2 separate regions of the Homo sapiens genome follow, and region 2 is linked to region 1. Evidence: promoter capture Hi-C in human tissues and cell types (Jung and others, 2019). All regions are on one chromosome and are shown on one strand. The core of a region is centred on a gene start or on the middle of the fragment in contact, and the rest is flanking DNA. Distances in the headings are between cores, read along the strand shown.

The links. Contacts are between HindIII fragments. The study calls those that stand out against the background at their distance.
Region 2: a fragment that was not itself captured here is called in contact with the fragment with the promoter of SYNDIG1L in region 1 in 2 of the 25 tissues and cell types used here (lymphoblastoid cells and mesendoderm cells).

The regions. Positions count from the first base shown.
Region 1 is chr14:74,423,679-74,428,111 of GRCh38, forward strand. SYNDIG1L (synapse differentiation inducing 1 like) reads right to left here and starts at 2,532. Exons shown (of 4, transcript NM_001105579.2): 1 at 2,234-2,532. The HindIII fragment of the contact is 14,133 bases long and covers 1-4,433 here.
Region 2 is chr14:74,379,038-74,383,158 of GRCh38, forward strand. No RefSeq gene overlaps it. Among named protein-coding and RNA genes, the nearest start is that of VRTN, 33 kb to the left of the region's middle. The HindIII fragment of the contact is 3,288 bases long and covers 807-4,094 here.

The DNA.
Region 1 (4,433 bases), core at 1,282-3,781:
GATTGATATATATATACACACACACACACACACACACGTAACACAAATATAAATTCTCTGTAGGGATGGATATTTCCTGCTTGTCCCCTCCTCTGGTCTTCCTAGGAGGGAGATCATAGCCAGGCAGGGTCCCTGGTAGGAGATGGCCAATGGTGGGGTCCCTGGCCCTTTGTTACTCACAAGAGATGGTGGTGGTGGTGGTGGTGGTGGTGGCAGGGATAATGGGGTGGTGGTTCCTGGCCTCTGGGCTTGGAGGCAGGAGCCCCTCTCAGTTCAGTCATTCTGAGTCACACTTATGGCTTTCCCAGAGAAATAAGAGAGGGGGTTCTTAAGAAAACATCAGAAATATAAATGGCTTTTTCTGGTTCCTATTGCTCACTTTCACTCCATTCATAAAATCCAGTTCATTACTAAAAGGTCATTAACTTTGTTGTCAAACCAGGTTGATAAAGCCGGCATCCTGTATTCAAGCAGAATTGAGGGGTTTATGGGTTTAGGACAGCCTCAGAAAGCCCTACAGAATATCAGGGCTTGAAATCTTAACTCATCTAGCCCAACTCTCTTCTTTTACAGATGAGAAAAATGAACCCCCAGAGGGGAATGGACCTGCCTGAGACAGCGGCGGATCTGTGACCAGAACACAGGGCTTCTGACTCCCAGTTAAATGCTTTTATTCTGATACACTTTAACATTTCATTCCCTCATTTTACACCCGATTACCGAGTCCTTACTATCTTCCAGGTGCTGTTGGGGAGGGGGTCATGAAGGGGGACAAAGAGATGAAAACAACACAATTCCTGCCTTCAGGGAGCTCTTTCCCTAGATCTGTGGTTCTTAGGGAGAAAAAATAAAAACCGGTGAGTCAGACTCTTACCTTATATTATCTCCTATAGGTGATGATGGAAGAGGAGAAGAAGGGAGGGCACACTTTTTTCTCCTTAAGGTTTATAAGTTTGGCTTCACTGATTCTGGGACCCCACGGTGGCCAAGGACAAAGGGAGACATGGCCATGCTGGGAGAAGAGGGGGTAGGGGTGACAATAATCAGGTCACTGACAGCAGGCCTGGCTAGGGGTTGGGAACAGTGACAGCAGCGCACACTGGTATGGAGATGTACAGGTGGCAAGCCTCCAATCAGGTGCATTGTTTTTCATTGGGCCCCAAGGCAGTTCCCTGAGGTGAGCAGAGCGGTGACCTTATCCCCACTCCAGGGGTGAGGAGGATGAGGTTGAAAGAGCTTAGGGAACTAGCTAAAGCCAGTAAATGCCAGCACCCAGCCAGGAACTCCTACTCTAGTGCTCTTTCTACCCCTGGGGGTAGGGAAGTTGTGTTGGGTTGGAGGGTGGGGATAAAGCAGTAGAAAGAAGTGGTCAGCCACAAGGGTAGGCCAATTCTTCCTCCACGCAGTTTTATTTTGATCGCTACATTCTGCCAGTCATAGAGAACTCTGCTCTGAAGAACTAGAAGCACTTTGCAGGCCTGAATGAGCTCATTCAGCGCACTCTTGCCAGAAAGAGAGAGAACTCCTAATGGAGGCTCTGTCTAGGGTCACCAGCACATAATAGAAAACAGGACCCAGGTTCCCTGACTCTTTGCCCTCATGCGCCAAGAGATGTGATGCAAATCCTGCCTGCTTCTGTGAGCGTCAAGAGTGTCATAGGAAAAAAAATTGAGGTATCTTCCAGGACCTCCTTCCTTCCCTGAAGAAATGGGTTAATCCATCCTAAGGGGCCTTGGCCCAAGAGCCAATCCCTTGGCCCAAGAGCCATTTCCAGGGCAGAGAAATCTCAGAGCAGGGGGTACCACAGCCACCTCAGTCACCTGGGTGAACAGGTTTGGGTGCGAGAAGAGGGGAGCTTAGTGAAGCCTGCTCAGATTTTGCTAGTGTCGCAAAACCTTGGTGGGGACTGGGGTACCAGGGAGTCTGAGGCTCTAATCAGTATTTCTTGCCGTCAGTAGGCAGGATGTCTAGGAGCTGCCTGAGGTCAGGGTCAAGGCCTGATGTTGTGAGGTTATGGTGTCTTGACCCCAGTTCATCAGCCCCCTCCCAGCACCCCCAGCCTGCAGGATGAGGGGTAGGGAGGGACGAAGTGCAAGCCTTGGCGGAGCGCAAGGTGCGGCCAAGCAGGGAGTCAGAGCCCCTAGCCCCGAGAGGGCTCCCGTGCCCTCCCCAGCTCACTCCCCGCTCCGTGCCTAGCTCTGCGCTCCCGCGGCGCCCCCAGACCGCCCCTTACCTGTCCCGCCGCGGACGGTCCCGCCTCCTCCGCGGGGCTCGGGGGCTCGGCATGGGCCGGTGAGCGACGGCGCCCCCGCCTCGCGGTCGCGGTGGAACTCCCAGGAGGGCTCCCCTGCTCTCGTCCCCGCGTCCCTGAGCAGCCGCCGCTTCAGCACCGCGGACAGCTCCCGCCCGCAGCCCGCCGCCGCCGCCCGCCCCGCCCCGCGCGGTCCCGGGAGCCCCGCATCCTGGCCGGGCCCCGCCGCCGCCGCCGCCGCGCAGCCCTCGGCCCGGCCCGAGGCGGCTCCGCGCCGACTTGGGAGAGCAGCGAGGAGGGTCCCCCTCCTTCCCGCCTCCCGCCGCCGCCGCCTCCCTCTCGCTTCCGTGCTCCGTGCTCCCTTCCACGCTCCGGAATCAGCCCACCAGGCACTCCGGACCCGGCTCCGGGGCGGGGCGGGGCGGGAAGTCGGGGGAGCCCGGAGGAGGCGGCGAAGCGAGGGGCGCGCAGCTGGAACCCGCGTACCCGCTTCCTGGAGCCGAGCCCTCTTTCCCAGCCCTTCTCTCCCCTCCTCCCGCGCACCCCAGAGCGATGGGAGGCCCTTGGGCTTCTTGAAGCATTTTGGAGCTCCTAGGCTCCAAAGCCAGCCCTGAGTTTTTAACATTGATCTGCCCTAAAAAGAAAAACAAACAGAAAGCATTTATTGAGCACCTACTATATACCAGATACCAAGCCCGATAATGTGTTTAATCAACATAAGCTCATTTAATTTTCTTAACAACTCTATTAGGCAATATAGTGCCCCTCTTCCCCTCTTCCCCTCCCCCTGCCCCCCTCCCCCTGTCCCCCTTCCCCCTCCAATTTTGCAGACCAGGACGCTGGGCTCACAAGGATGAAATCCTGTGATTTGGAGATTCAGTGCTGTGCTGGGAAGGGCACAGGTTTTAAAGCTCATGGACCTAAGTTTTGGTCCTAGGGTCCCACTTGCTGTATAACCTCGAGCAAGTTACCTAACCTCTTAAAGCCTCAGGTTCCTCATGGACAAAGTGAGGGGTCATATGAGGACAAAATGAGATGACATACGTGACACATTGGCACTCAATAGGCACTCAGTGAGTGAGCGTCCCCCTGAGTTTTCCCAGCAAGAGCCCTGAGATCCGAATGCAGGCCTTTTGGCTGCTTTGTCTCCACCCTGTGCTGCTCTTTATCCACCTCCACCTGCGTTTCCTTTTTTTTTTTTTTTTTTGCATGGGGATGCCCTATCTTGAGTGTTACCAGTGGATGAACCTATTCTTCGAGCGCCTTCACAAGGTCTTGAGTCTCACCAAAGTCCCAGGAGGTCAGGAGGAGAGAGTATTCTCATTTTCTGAAGGTAAGTGTGGGTTTGCAAAGTAAACCACAGAGCAGGCTGCAGCTGGGGCTGGAAGACACAAGGAACCAGGGTCTGGCAGTGGGATTCCACTAGCATCCACTAGTCTCCTAGCATCCAGCTGAGGATGCTATAGCACATAGCATGGTGGACTCCAGGACTCCTTCACTCCCACAGGATGTGGGCATCTGGCACAGTTCGGTGTAGCTCCTAGAGTGCACAGTAGGAGCCAGGAGCAAGTCCACATCATGGGGCTTGGGTCTCCTTCCCTTCAAGGCAGGACAGAGAACTCCCTTATCCTGGGGTCTGTCTCAGGGCTGGTATTGGTGTTTAACTTGTTGGGTGCTAAATATATTATTGCTCTTCCTGTCTCTGCCCCATTAGTGGATAATGCAGTGAGAAGCCCCCTGAGGCCAGCAAGGGTCTTGGACCACTCATCTCAGGCCCATACTTCATCTTCACAGACACCCTCCTCCTCAAAACACAGACATACAGACACACACACAACACAGACACACATAGACACACACAGACACACACACAAGACATTGTCTCTGATGTCAGGCCACCCTCCTGTACCTTTGCTTTCTCTGGCCTTCCTCTCACAGGGGCTCATGGCCACCTACTTGGCCTTGGCCTCCCTCTGCTGCTCCCCTCCCCACCCTGGCTGTGCTCCATGCCTGGGCTGCATACTGAAATACTAATTGAAAGGATAATAAAAAAGCCAGTGAAGCAAAAGCCGCATATAAATTCTAAATACTAATGTTGATAATTACATGCTGCTGCCTGGAGGGAAAACTCAAAGAGAGGCTGTTGGTGTTGTATCAAGGGCCCTGGCCTGGTGCCAGGAGA
Region 2 (4,121 bases), core at 1,201-3,700, 45 kb before region 1:
GGAGGCCGAGGTGGGCGGATCACGAGGTCAGGAGATCGAGACCATCCTGGCTAACACGGTGAAACCCCATCTCTACTAAAAATTCAAAAAAATTAGCCGGGTGTGGTGGTGGGTGCCTGTAGTTCCAGCTACTCGGGAGGCTGAGGCAGGAGAATGGCGTGAACTTGGGAGGCGGAGCTTGCAGTGAGCCGAGATCGCGCCACTGCATTCCAGCCTGGGCGACAGAGGGGGACTCTGTCTCAAAAAAAAAGAAAAAAAAAGAGAACAGAAAAAAAGTGGCCGGGCGCTGCAGCTCACACCTGTAATCCCACCACTTTGGGAGGCTGAGGTAGATGAATCATGAGCTCAGGAGTTTGAGACCAGCCTGGTCAGCATGGTGAAACCCCATCTATCCTAAAATTACAAAAATTAGCCGGGGGTGGTGGCAGGCGCCTGTAATCCCAGCTACTTGGGAAGCTGAAGCAGGAGAATCACTTTAACCCAGGAGACGGAGGTTTCAGTGAGGTGAGGTTGTGCCACTGCACTCCAGCCTGGGTGACAGAGTGAGACTCTATCTCAAAAGAAAAAGTAAAAAAAAAAGAAAAAATTTAAAAATTAATTTAGTGTAGCCTAAATATACAGCGTTTATATGATCTGGAGTAGAGCACAGTCATGCCCTAAGCCTTTACGGTCACTCACCACTCACTCACTCACTCACCCAGAGCAACTTCCGGTCCTGCAAACTCCCTTCATAGTAAGTGCCCTATACAGGTGTATAATTAAAAAGAAAATATTTTATACCATGGTTTTACTGTACCTCCATGGTTTTACTGTACCTTTTTAAAATAAATAAATTTATCTGAGACAAGATCTCACTCTGTTAACCAGGCTGGAGTGCAGTGGTGGGATCAAGGCTCACTGCAGCCTCAAGTTCCCAAGCTCAAGCAATCTTCTCACCTCAGCCTCCAGAGTAACTGGGACCACAGGTGTGCGCCACCATGCCTAGCTAATTTTTTGATTTTTTTTTTTTTTTTTTTGTAGAGATGAGGTCTCACTATGTTGCCTAGGCTGGTCTTGAACTCCTGGGCTCAAGTAATCCTCCCGCCTTGGCCTCCCAAAGTGTTGGGATTGCAGGTGTAATCCCAACAGCTACTCAGGAGTACAGGCCGTGCCTGGCCTTACTGTACCTTTTCTATGTTTAGATACACAAATACTTATCATTGCATTGTAATTGGCTACAGTGTTCAGTCCAGCAACGTGCGGTATAGATTTGTAGCCTAGGAGCAATAGGCTGTAGCACATAGCCTGCATGTGTAGTAGGCTGCACCACTTAGGTTTGCGTAAGTGCATTCTATCACGTTCGCACAATGACAAAATTACCTAGCATCGAATTTCTTGGAATGTATCACTGTTGTTAAGTAATGCATGACTGTACATACCGAACAGAATGTAAACATATGTTTAGCAAGAATGTGTTTAAGAATATTCATAAAAACTTTTCATAATAACCAAAGGAAATAATCTGAATGCCCGTCAACAGTAGGATGGATAAATAAGCTGTGGTGTAGTTACATAATGGAATGCTACGTGATAATGAGAATGAATGATCTACAGCTATACTCAACAATGTGGATCAATCTTAAAAAAACATGTTGAGCTAAAGAAGCCAGATATGAAAGAGGAGTTATGGTATTATTCCATTTATGTAAAGCACAAAAACAAGCAAAACTAATTTATGCTGTTAGAAGTCAGGATAATGGTCACCTTTGGGGAGAGATAGTACTTGGAAGGAAGCATGAGGGGGCACTTACGGTGTGTTGGAAATGCTCTGGTTTTTTTTTTTTTTTTGAGACAGAGTCTTGCTGTGTCGCCTAGGCTGGAATGCAATGGCACATCTCGGCTCACTGCAGTCTCCGCCTCCTGGGTTCAAGCGATTCTCCTACCTCAGCCTCTCGAGTGGCTGGGATTACAGGAGCATGCCACTATGCCTGGATACCTTTTGTGTTTTTAGTAGAGACGGGGTTTCACCACATTGGCCAGGCTGATCTCGAACTCCCGACCTCGTGATCCTCCCACCCCAGCCACCCAAAGTGCTGGGATTACAGGCATGAATCACCGCGCCCGGCCATGCTCTGTATTTTTTTTTAGAGACAGGGCTCACTCTGTCAGAGCTCACTGGAGCCCTAAATTTCTGGGGCTCAAGTGATCCTCCCGTCTTAGCCTCCCAAGTAGCTGGGATTATAGGCATGTGCCACTACCCTTGCCAGAAATGCTGTTTCTTAAACCAAATTCTAGTACATGGGTGTGTTCAGTTTGTGAGAATTTGCCAAGCTGTATACTTGTGTTTGGGTACTTTATGTATATGTCAATAAAAAGTTTAAAAAAAAAAAAAAAAACCCAGGCCGGGCGCGGTGGCTCACACCTGTAATCCCAGCACTTTGGGAGGCCGAGGCGGGTGGATCACGAGGTCAGGGGTTCGAGACCAGCCTGACCAACATGGTGAAACCCTGTCTCTACTAAAAATACAAAAATTAGCTGGGTGTAGTGGCGGGCGCCTGTAATCCCAGCTACTCAGGAGGCTGAGGCAGGAGAATTGCTTGAACCTGGGAGGCGGAGGTTGCAGCGAGCTGAGATCGCGCCACTGCATTCCAGCCTGGCGACAGAGCGAGACTCCGTCTCCAAAAAAAAAAAAAAACAAACAAACCCCAGATTCCTGGGTTGAGAAATGCCATTAAGAAAACAAACAGGCAAGCTACAAATTGGGAAAAAATATTCGTAAAACATACCTGACAAAGAACTGGTAGACAGGATATAAGAGAATTTCTGCAACTTAATAAAGACAAATGACTCAATTACAACAAAATTGACAAAAAATATGAACCGACACTTCACAAAAAAAGATATACATGTGGCCAATAAGTACATGAAATTGTGCTCAAAATCGTAAGACACAAGGGAAATGAAAATTAAAATCACAATGAGGGCCAGGAGTGGTGGCCCACATCTGTAATCCCCTCACTTTGGGAGGCTGAGGTGGGAGGATCACTTGAGGCCAGGAGTTTGACACCAGCCTGGGCAAAATAGGGAGACCCGACCCCCCCCCGCCGCCTCTACAAAAACAAACAAACAAACAAACAAACAAAAAACCCACAATGAGATAGGCTGGCTGAAATTTTTTTTTTTGAGACAGGGTCTTGCTCTGTCACCCAGACTGAAGTTCAGTGACACAATCGTGGGTCACTGCAGCCTCAACCTCTTGGGCTCAAGTGATTCTCCCACCTCAGTCCCCCAAGTAACTGGGGCTAATTTTTTAGAGAGACAAGGTCTCACTATATTGCCCAAGCTAGTCTTGAGCTCCTTAGCTCAAGGCAATCCTCCCACCTCAGCCTCCTGAAGTGCTGGGATTACAAGCATGAGCCACCACACCTGGCCCACAGCTAAACTTAAGAAAGACTGGTAAGACTAAATATGAGGATATGGAGCAACTGGAACTGTCATACATTGTTGATGGGAAAGGCTTGGGAGTTTCTTTTTTTTTTTCCTTTTTTTTTTTTTGAGACAGAGTCTCGCTGTGTGCCCAGGCTGGAGTGCAGTAGCACGATCTCGGTTTACTGCAAGCTCTGCCTCCCGGGTTCATGCCATTCTCCTGCCTCAGCCTCCCGAGTAGCTGGGACTACAGGTGCCCGCCACCATGCCCGGCTAATTTTTTGTATTTTTAGTAGAGACGGGTTTTCACCCTGTTAGCCAGGATGGTCTCCATCTCCTGACCTCGTGATCCACCTGCCTCGGCCTCCCAAAGTGCTGGGATTACAGGTGTCAGCCACCGTGCCTGGCCCGGGAGTTTCTTAAAAAAACTAAATATATGCTTACCCTCTGACTCAATATTTTCACCTCTAGGTATTTACCTGAGAGAAAAGAAAATATATTTCCACAAAAAATATTGTATAAGAATGTTAATGGAAGCTTTTTTTTTTTTTTTTTAAGACCAAGTTTTGTTCTTGTCGCCCAGGCTGGCGTGCAACAGCATGATTTTGGCTCACTGCAACCTTCCCCTCTGGGTTCAAATAATTCTTCTTCCTCACTCTCTGGAGTAGCTGGGATTACAGGCATGCACCACCACGCCTGGCTAATTTTTGTATTTT